Linked DNA regions of Homo sapiens: region 2 is linked to region 1. The links are contacts of gene promoters, found by promoter capture Hi-C in human tissues and cell types (Jung and others, 2019). All regions are on one chromosome and are shown on one strand. Each heading gives the region's core, a stretch centred on a gene start or on the middle of the fragment in contact. The rest is flanking DNA. Distances are from core to core; before and after follow the strand shown.

What was found. The method cuts DNA at HindIII sites, captures the fragments that hold promoters and counts their contacts. A contact is called where the count stands out against the background at its distance.
Region 2: a contact is called between a fragment that was not itself captured here and the fragment with the promoter of MEIS2 in region 1, in 1 of the 25 tissues and cell types used here (H1 embryonic stem cells).

What each region holds. Positions count from the first base shown.
Region 1 is chr15:37,098,581-37,103,537 of GRCh38, forward strand. It overlaps MEIS2 (Meis homeobox 2), which reads right to left and starts at 1,969. Exons shown (of 12, transcript NM_170675.5): 1 at 875-1,969. The coding sequence starts at 886. It overlaps LOC124903465 (a long non-coding RNA gene), which reads left to right and starts at 668. Exons shown (of 2, transcript XR_007064581.1): 1 at 668-849; 2 at 1,221-4,957. RefSeq lists silencers at 341-540, 691-750, 3,200-3,339 and enhancers at 1,810-1,969, 2,220-2,499. The HindIII fragment of the contact is 11,980 bases long and covers 1-4,957 here.
Region 2 is chr15:36,965,262-36,970,218 of GRCh38, forward strand. All of the region lies in intron 8 of MEIS2 (Meis homeobox 2), which reads right to left. Among named protein-coding and RNA genes, the nearest start is that of MIR8063, 5.2 kb to the right of the region's middle. The HindIII fragment of the contact is 6,570 bases long and covers 114-4,957 here.

The DNA of each region.
Region 1 (4,957 bases), core at 719-3,218:
AGAGAAGGAAGAGGAGGCGGCGAGGCCGGGGATTTGAGGGGGCGCCGGGAGGCCCCGCTCCCGCCGGAGGCAACAGAACCGTAGCGAGCCAACGGAGGGAGAAGTGGAGTTAGTGTGAGGAGGAAGCCCCGGATCCCACCCCTAACCCCCCTTCGCCTCCTCTGAGGATCCAATAAATCAAAAGGCGAAATGAAACAAAATAAAGAGAAGAAAAACGCTAATAATCAGCACGAGAACGCCGAGGACTAGGAAAGACTAGGGCCAGTGCCTCCCCGGGGGCAGGGAGCGGAGGGTGGGGGGGCGAATAACGTGAAAGTTACCAGAAACATTATTTAGCAGCGGATTCCCTGCGTCCTTGTCAATTTCAGAGACAAAACAAGCAGCCCAGGCTAGTAGTCTAGGCGGCGGCGCAGCGGCTGCGGCAGCGCGGCCCCAGCGGCGGCCCCGGCGGCGGCTCCTACGCAGCCCGTGCCCGCCCCGAGCCGCGCGAGCCACGGCGGCAGCGGCGCAGCAGCGGCAGCAGGAGAACCGGGGGAATCGCGCTGCTGGGGTAAAAGCTGGAGCGAGGCGAAAGCGTGTAACGATTGCACACGCACACACACACACCACTCACACGCACTCGCCGCCCGCCCGCTCGCACAGCGCTGGAACACGCGCGCCCAGACACGCACACACGCACGCACACACACTCGCACACACGCAGAGGCACGGGAGGGAAAGAAGCCGATGAATAATTTTGCTATTTTTTAAAATACTGGCCGCCATCATCAAGCAGCGAGCAGCAGCAGAAGCGTTGAAGGGAGAGGAGGCATCGGGACAGGCCCCTCTTAGGAGAGGATTTATATCTAGGTAAGTGTTGGAGATTTAAACCTACCCTTTGCGCCATCAGTCTGCGCTCCAATAAACTCCTGGATGTGTCGTATATTTAATATCCCAGTCCGGATAAGAAAGTGATCTAGGCTGAAGATTCCTTTTTTTTTTTTCCAAACCAAAGAGACTTCTCCCAATTCTCCAATATGCTATTTTTTAGGGGGGAAAAAAAGCCCAGTCTAGACAACGAAGAATTTTTTTTTCTGTGATATTTCTTCTTTTTCTCTTTTTTCCTCTTCTTCCTCCTCCTCCTGATCTTCCTCCTCCTCCTCCACCTCCTCCTCCTCCCCCCTCCCCTCCTCCTCCTCTTCGGTCCTCCTTTCCCCCTCTTTCTCTTCTCTTCCCCTCAGTTGGAAAAAAAAAGAAAGAAAAGAAAAAGAAGAAAAAGAAGAAAAAAATTGTCAAGCCCCCGAACTGAAGGTTACGAGCGGCCCGTCAGCAGCCCACATGTAACCGAACTGTCGTGTTTCATGGCTTTTTGCCACTCCAGCTGTCAATCAAAGCCCGGAATGTCAAGGTAGTGAATGAATGATGGTTGATGATGATGAAGAGGAGGAATCTTTCAGACCCGTTTTTTTCTTCCAGTAAAACTCCGCGAGGGGTTTCTGCTTCTTGAATTTTTTCCTCCCCCCTCCCCCCTTTTTTAGCTTTGCCCCCGCGGTATCTATAATACGATCCTCTCTCTTTAAAGTATTGTTCAAAGAAAGCAGTGAGAAAAATCAAGAAAAAAAAATGAATAGTTTGCAAAAATTGGACTTCCTCCCCCCCTTTCCTGGTAGGTATTTTGTCTCTCCCTCTCTCTCTTTCTCGCTCGCTCGCTCGCTCTCACTCGCGCTCGCTCTCTCGCGCTCGCTCTCTCTCGCTCTCTTTCTCTCTCTGGGAGATGAGTGAGTGTCAGTAGGTGTTGGCAGGTTGGCTGCTGCCTGGCTTATTGAAGAGCCTCAGTTTGGCGGCGCGGGTCGGCGGCGGGAGAACGAAATGACGGAACCCGGAAGTCGTGGTGGCCATAGCCCGTCGTACGGCGGAGACACATCCCGGGAGTGGGGAGCGGGAGCGAGGAGGAGCGCGCCGCGCCGAGCCTCTGATATGCAACGAGTGCGATCGGACAGCCCCGGCTGGGGGGGTGGGGGAGGCGGGGGGGCGGGAGGGGGAGGGGAGGCTCGAGCCGGGCGGACCCGAGCAAATCAGCAAGCCTGCTCCTCCACGGGGATGGGGGACGGCGGGGGGGAGGAAAAGGAGAGTGTGTCTGTGTGTGTGAGTGTGTGTGTATGTGTGTGCGTGCGCGCGTGTGTGTTGCGCGCGCGCGCGCGCGAACAGGGAGAGAGGGAGAGGGGGAGAGAGAAGAGGACAGGGAGAGCGCAGAGAGGAAAACTGCAGAAAACCACAGGGAAAGTACGGTACCGCCTCAGATCTTTTCATTTAAAAAAAAAAAAAAACTTACTTCTAGTTCATTTTCCCATCACTCCCGGCTCCTGCCTAACTGGGTCTTGCCGGGGACGTTTGGCATGGCGCTCTAGCTTTTGTTCCTTTTAATTCCGCGGCCTCCCTCTCCTCTGCCCGCCGATTACAGCACCCCGAAGGCTTCCTGCTAACGTCCAAGGGCAGCAAGCTCTGCAGACGGTACCACTGCCGGGCTAAATTTTTTATTAAGTGGCACTTTCTTTTCTGCGCAGATCCAGCAACCTTGTCAATACTCATTTTTTTCCAGGACCAGAAGAGACCAGCTTAACTCAGAGCACACTCCCTCCAAGCGGTGCGGACAAGGGGCCACCCCGAGAGTCTTTGGGGGCCGCGGCGGAATCGGGAGGGAGGAAGTGAGGAGGCAGTCATCTGGGTCCGATGTAGCCAAAGGCGTGTGTGTGTGTGTGTGTGTGTGTGTGTGTGTGTGTGTGTGCGCGCGCGCGCCCGCGCGCCCGTGCGCGCGCGCGACTAGTGTGCGTCTCCAAAGTGGATCTCACTCAGAGCTGGGAAGCACAGGAGGAAAAGACGGAGAGAGTGGGGGAGAAAGAAGTTGCCGGGCGAGGAGGAGTGGCCGGCGCTCACAGCCCAGCTTTGTTGTGGTCGCCCGAGGCGCAGCGGCGGGCCGCGGTAACGCCTGCTAATGGCTGTGTTAATTACACAGGGGCGATTTCGCGGGGTCAGGGAGATGGGGCCAGCTCCGAAAGAACTTTTCCAAAAAGGAAAAGGAAACGAAGGGAACTACCCCACACCGTTTGGGTGGAAACTAGTTGTGGCCGGTGCCCTGTCCTCCCTGGCCCGAGCTGCACCAGGCTTCACCTCTGCGCGGCTGGTTTCCCGGCGGCCGCGCGTCAATCACTACGAGCCCGGAGTTGGGGGCGGAGCCACGGTCACCCCGCGCAAGCCTTGCCGCCCAGCAGCCCCCATGCCCCTCGGCCCCTTGTGGCGCGGCCGGGCGGACAGGCGCTGGAAGCGCGTCCTCTCCCCAACTTCTCGCTCTCGCCCTCCCAGTCCCTGGCCCAGAGAGTGGAAAGCGGACTGTTGTTCTCCAACAGCCGCATCCCTCCCCAACTTTGAACCCATTCTGAGAAGTGGAGAGTAGTGTCTTCCGCGAGCCGCGTCTAACCGACTTTCCCGCGGAGGGAGGGTGGGATGGGGGAGGTTGATTAGAGAGAATAAAGTACTCTGTGTGTGTGTTGTGTGTGAGAGAGAGAGAGAGAGAGCGAGAGAGAGCGGGGAGGAGGGCGGGTGGGAGGGCTCTTTTTTTTGGCCCCCGTTCCATGTTCCCTGCTTCACTGTAAGCTTTCGAGCAACAGAAACTAGGCTAAGATTGCAGCCTGCAGAGACTCCAAGCGGAGTCGGAGAAATTTGGCCTCGTTTTAATAGGGCTGAGGAATGAACTCCGGAGGTCAATAAAGCCCTCCAAAAATGATGAATGATTGAGCACCTGTGATGATGATAGTGATTACCAGAGCAATTAAACAGTTTGATTAAATGAGCCATCATAACAATGATGTCTGCGGGAAATCGGCCCTCACATATAAAGAAAGATAGTGCGAAGGGGCTGGCAGAGGCGCGGATAGCGCGACGCCAGGGAGAGGGGCTGCGGGCCGCGAGGTTTCTGCCCAATGGCCCGAGCAGGGACGGCCAGACTCACGGAGCTTCAGGGAGGAGAGTGTAGCCCAGGTTTTCAGCCACTCTTTTTTGCCGGGCTTCAAGCCTGCTAGAGCCGACGGGTAGGAAATCTGAAGGTTGGGGGGAGGGTACTTCCTCCACGTCCTCTTTTTTTTCCTAGAAGAACTCCAAGATTAAAAGTATCCTTATTTGTTGCTGAGTTGCTCGTCGACATTTAAGAGAAGGTGAGTAAAAAAGAAAAGAAGATGAAAGAGAAAAGAAAAAGTTGGTCTCCAGAATTTTATTTCAATCGACAGTTACGCGAATTCAGTTTAGCCGGGACCGGGAGGTTTGAGAGTGCGGCGGGGTGGGGAGGGGAAAAAAACAAAAACGCTGCGGAGCGTTTTCGACTTTGCAAAGCTGTTGATGTTGGTGGGTCCAAGTTCCCGGTGCAGCGCCGCTGGCTGAGAAATTTGTACTCAGTTTTTACTCTTCTAATTATTCTTAAATTCAATTTAAGAATTTAAGTTTATCGTCGCCAATAGGATTATTGTTGTTTTAAATGTCTTGTTCAATAAGTGCCAGTTACGTTTCTTTTTAAAAGAAATTCCTCAGTGTCCTTGATAAACCTTTTTTTGTAAAGATCAACTTCATGCGGAACCTCTGCCTTGCAGGGTTTAAACATTCAACATTGCTACCTTCTGTTTCTTTTTCTGTTTTTATAGTGATACTGTAAAGTGAGTTAGCATCTCTATAGCTTTCATTTAGAAAAACTTAAGTCGCATTTTTAGAAAAATATTCCTTCCCTTGCAGTGTGAGTAAAAACAACTCAGACAGATTGATGATTTCTATATTTTCTTTTCTTTCTTTATCTTCTTTTTCTTTTTTTCTTTTCTTTTCTTTTTTTTTCTTTTTTTTTGAGACGGAGTCTCGCTTTGTCGCCCAGGCTGGAGTGCAATGGCGCGATCTCGGCTCACTGCAACCTCCGCCTCCCGGGTTCAAGCGATTCTCCTGC
Region 2 (4,957 bases), core at 2,149-4,648, 130 kb before region 1:
TCTATTACACTGAAGATTTGATTATACCAACTCAAGGCAAGCAAGGTCAACTTACAGATAAAATAATTATGTGATATTGGCAAGATGTGATTAATTATATGAGGTCTACAGTTGCCATCAAAACAATGCAAGGCAATGAATTTCTAAGGTATTTTAGTTTTGTGTAAGATTTAGTAATTTAACTAAACTCATACCTCTCTGTCCCTCCAGAATGTAAGTGATACTATATCTGCTCATGGACAACACAAGTGGCCTATAACATTTAACAAAATTGCCTAAAGAAATTAAAAGCCAATAACTGTAGGATGAATATGGAAGTCCTGAATAGTTCCACCATTAGGTCAGTTAATTTAAACTTTAAAATATTTATATGTCTCCCACCAGAACATAAGCTTCTTGAAGAAACTTGAAAGAAACAATTAGGAAAATTTCATGGAGCAAACTTTTCCCTAGCCCAGGCTATAGTTGCACAAGAGAGTTGGGGATCTAGAAACTTCTGTGGCTAATGTCTGCAACACACTGCGATAATGACCAGGAGACTAACTAGTCATTCAAGTGAGAAAAAGCTTTGACAAGTCCAAGAAAAAAAGAGCTCACTGTCATTCATTCTGGGAAATTAAAACAAAAACAAAAACTTATAAAGAAATTCAGGCTATATCTCACGAGGGGAAGAAGAAACTAAAAAAGATTAAGAGACAAAGTGAGCTTATACACATTAGAATAATATATGCTCAAATCTCTGGAGAAACTCTATTATATCACAATTAATGCAGAAACTGCAATCAAGCCAGGCTAATTTCAATAGATTCCAAGTTTTGAACAGTTCCTAGGCTATCCAAGTGGGAATTTGGCCAGGACGCTGGGGTTAATAATTCATTTTGAGGAGGGCTAATTCTTTGGGAAGCAGCCCACTCTGCAGGAGGAAACATTTGGCCCATATGAGCAAATTCGCTCTTTGAGATCACCATCTATTAGCTCCACAAGACACCATTTTTAGGGGGAGAAGGGGGAAGTAAGTTCACTTTCTCATACATATAGAAATATTTATCATGTTTTCAATAAATATATATTAATGTCAGAGAAATGGCTCAAGCATACACATTCTCAAGGAATAATTTTACAGTAACTTTTAATTACCATGATCTTAGTATCGCATCACCAGACGAGTATTATGGCTAAAAGTAGGGGCTTTGGAATCAGACGGTCCTGGCTTTTAATCTTGGCTTGGCAGATTACTTACTGTAAAACCTTGAAGGAGATACTGAATCACCCCAGGACTTGAGTTCTTCGTTTATAAAATAGGAAAATTAATGGTACCTACCTCATAGAGTTCTTATGAGGTTTAAATAAGTCATGTATTAATTGACCAAATGGATATTGAGTGCCAGGCACTGTTACAGGAGAGAAAAATCTCTGACCTCATGGAATTTATATTCTGGCAAGGAGTGAAGGTACTAAATGAAAAATACAGAATCTCTCTGGGGGTAACAAACTTCATGAAGACAAACAAGGCACTATACAGAGATAGAAAATAACTGGGGATGCTGCTCTTTTATGTAGGGTAGCCAGGGAGAGCATTTTGAGAAGGTGACATTTGATCATAGACAAGTGTAGTCAGAGCCAGCTAGGAAGGCAGGATGGCAAGGAGCCCAGAGCCCTACTGCAGAGTGAGAGGGGCTCAGTGGAAGGATGGGGGCTGGAGAAGTAGCTGGTGCCAGACCATCCTGGGCCTGTGGGTCATGTTAAAGGATGTAAGTACTAACATGGTGTCTGGCACATAGTAATTAAGCACATAATAAATAGTAGCTATTTATTTATTCATACTGGGTAAATACAGTCATAAATCAGAATCATTCCTTGTTTCCATTGCTCTGTCATGTAATGGGAGTTTTCTACATCAATCCTGTCATCCTCACATAGCGATATCCTAACACATTTTAAACGCTCATGATATCACTAGTATTTGTAAATATAAATATTTTGTGATGTGTGGTTATTCAGCATCTTATTTTCCTGTTGGTGGGTCTTAAAAGTGATTTTTTAAAAGGGTATGTTAATTGAATGAGGTGAGATAGGATGCAAAAAAGAATCTTCAGCTGGGACACACATAGAGGGAAGATGGATTAGGACAGTGTCCTTTGCATTTTCCCCAAGAACACCAGAATGCAGGTATTTTCCTTATACTAAGCTGATTTGGAAGAAAGTCTTTAACTGATCTTCATGTCTCTAAATTGACTACAAATTGGCCCCAGCAGTCACCACCTAGCAAGTACACAAGACATCAAATGGATCATTCATACACTTCCCAAAACCGGTATAGCTCCATGTCACCAATAAAACAGATTCTTGGCCTGCACTCTAAGGCCTTTCACAATATCCCAAACTATCTTTCCAAATTTATATCCCACTACTCTGCAACACAAATATAAAATCCTAACCAAACCACATTGTCTTCTCTATTTTATTCCTCTATTATTGCCACCAAAACCCCTTCCATCTTGCAGATATTCAAAATCTCACCATTCTTTCTCTCCTCCCCTTTTTCTATACACTGTGTTTCCCAGTCCCTCTATACCTCTCCTCCCCATGAATTGGGCATGACCATGCAACTGATCACTAGACAAAGGACTGTGATTAAGGGTATGTGTGCTATTTTGGGGGCTGAAGAATTCACTTGCTGCTATGAACTCCCCTAGCCCTCTCTATTGCCGCTGCAATCATGGAGGTACTTGTTAAGAGTGTGGTGTCACAAAGTGGAAGAAACTTTACATGCTGAGCTTGTATAAGGAGGACAGCCAGCCTCAGAGAATAGCCTGAACTCACCACTGATTTTGTGTGCCCAAGAAACAACTCTTTTGTGTTAAGCCACTGAGGTTTTTGGTGCTATTTGTCGAAGCAGCGTAACAAATCCTATTCTGATTGATATACATTTCTTCAAGATCCAGCTTCTTGATCACTACTTTGAAGTGATTTTTTCTTTCTCTGTGCTTCTAAAAAAATCATACGGAGAAAATTTTCTTTAGATGCTGGTTAGAAATTTCTTTGTAGGAAGAATCAGCTCTATTGAAAAGGATCTTTGATAAGCCTGTGGGTTGAAAAATAGGGGTTGAAATAAATCCCCCAGGCCTGTGTTTCTAATGGCAGGCAAGTTTCTTGTCAAAGCAGGAAGCTACTCAGCCTGAATTGCTGAGAAGCTGTGTTGAGAGCTGCCTAGGAGAAGAGGTGGAGAGGCGATTAAAGTTAAGAGGCGAGGCCTGGGAAGAGATTGCATAAAGGGAGTTTTTCAAGTGATACGTGTGCTATGTGATGTGACACTTCCCCTTGACACTAAAAGTCTTCAGCAAAACTAGAGAATTCACAAAATCCTTGATATGACTGGATTTCTTAAGGAAGCTGATGAAGTGGCTGAATTTTGCATCAAGGCTATGTTGGTTTAAAAGCAATTCACTTGTGCAGTCAAAGGAATCAGCTGATATCTGGGTCACACTTCATTTATATTATTCATTTAGGAGAGATATACATTATAGTACTTGCATTATAGAAACTGGGGGGTAAAGAGTAAGGTTCTCAATAAAATGAACCATATTTCACGCAACTCTTTAATTTGCATGTGCCTAGCTCAGAACTGTATAGTTGAGGATCTCAGTAAAAAAGTATCTATTGAAGAGATGATTGCTGCAGATCAAAACCAGTCCTCCTCACTTCGCTTTCTCATCTTGAAACGTAAACCGGCCATCATTTAGTTCTAGTTTATTTGGATTTTTTGTTAAAGACATTTGAAGAATATTCTATGACATTGCAGTCATTTTTACTTGTTAAGTGGTAGCAAGTATTTTAAGCCTTCATCAGCCACAACCTTCCTAATGGGACATTGTTGTATTTCTTCTCTTAGTTTGCACTCTTAACTGCATTTAATTATCTGAATTTTCTCAGGATGAAGAAAAAGAGCTCCCATAAAGGGTGAGAATTGAGAGGAAATGTAGATAAAAATGAATTTCACTATCTCACTTCCAGTTTATCTACTCTGTCATCAACATTAAAGTCCTGTTTTTGTCTCTTCAGAAAACCACATGACATTTGAGAATCTTCTCCTCTACTGCACAAATTTCAAAACCATCTGGAACACCTTCCTTCCTTCCTTCTCTCCACCTCCCTATTCGTCCATCCTTTTCTTCAAACACGAAAGTGTTTTTTCCTTATTTGGCTCACTCTTCCTATGTTTCTGAGCTCTTACATTCTATCTTAATTCTTTAGTTATTTAAAGGTATTGTTTATATGAGAACAAACTTATACATACATAGGAAAATTTGAAATAAATAATATTTACAGATAAATCCTCTGTAGTGTATATGAAAATTAAGAATCAACTTTTCTGACTTCTAATTTCAAATACTAATGAAAAGTAAAAGGGCAAAGATCAAACCAGTATATGTACACAGGAGGAAGCACTAATACAATACATATAAATCTACTTTTAAATTAGTATGTTTGCATTCTCAGTCAAGAAGACTCATGTCTGCTCCTTGTTAGTAAATTAAACTCACAATTACAATCTTTGAAGATCTTCCCATAATGAAAAACAATGTAAATTGCAGCTCCTCGTAACTTAAGACTTGAGAACAATGTCTTTTTGGCTTTTTTTTTCTTTTCGCAAAAAAAGTACAGATATAAGAAAACTATACAGGGCCCTTGTCTTCAAATATTTAATACTTCATTTACTTTTTATAGCTGGAGAATTCTGGATTATTGACACTGACTCTGTAAATAACCTAGCTATATAGACAGTCACGTTTACAAAGATTGAATGCCTGGTTAAAATGCTCAAATATAATATAGTTTTGTTTAAAAATGCAAACATTTGGTCAGGCGCGGTGGCTCACGCTTGTAATCCCAGCACTTTGGGAGGCCAAGGCGGGAGGATCATGAGGTCAGGAGATCCGGACCATCCTGGCTAACA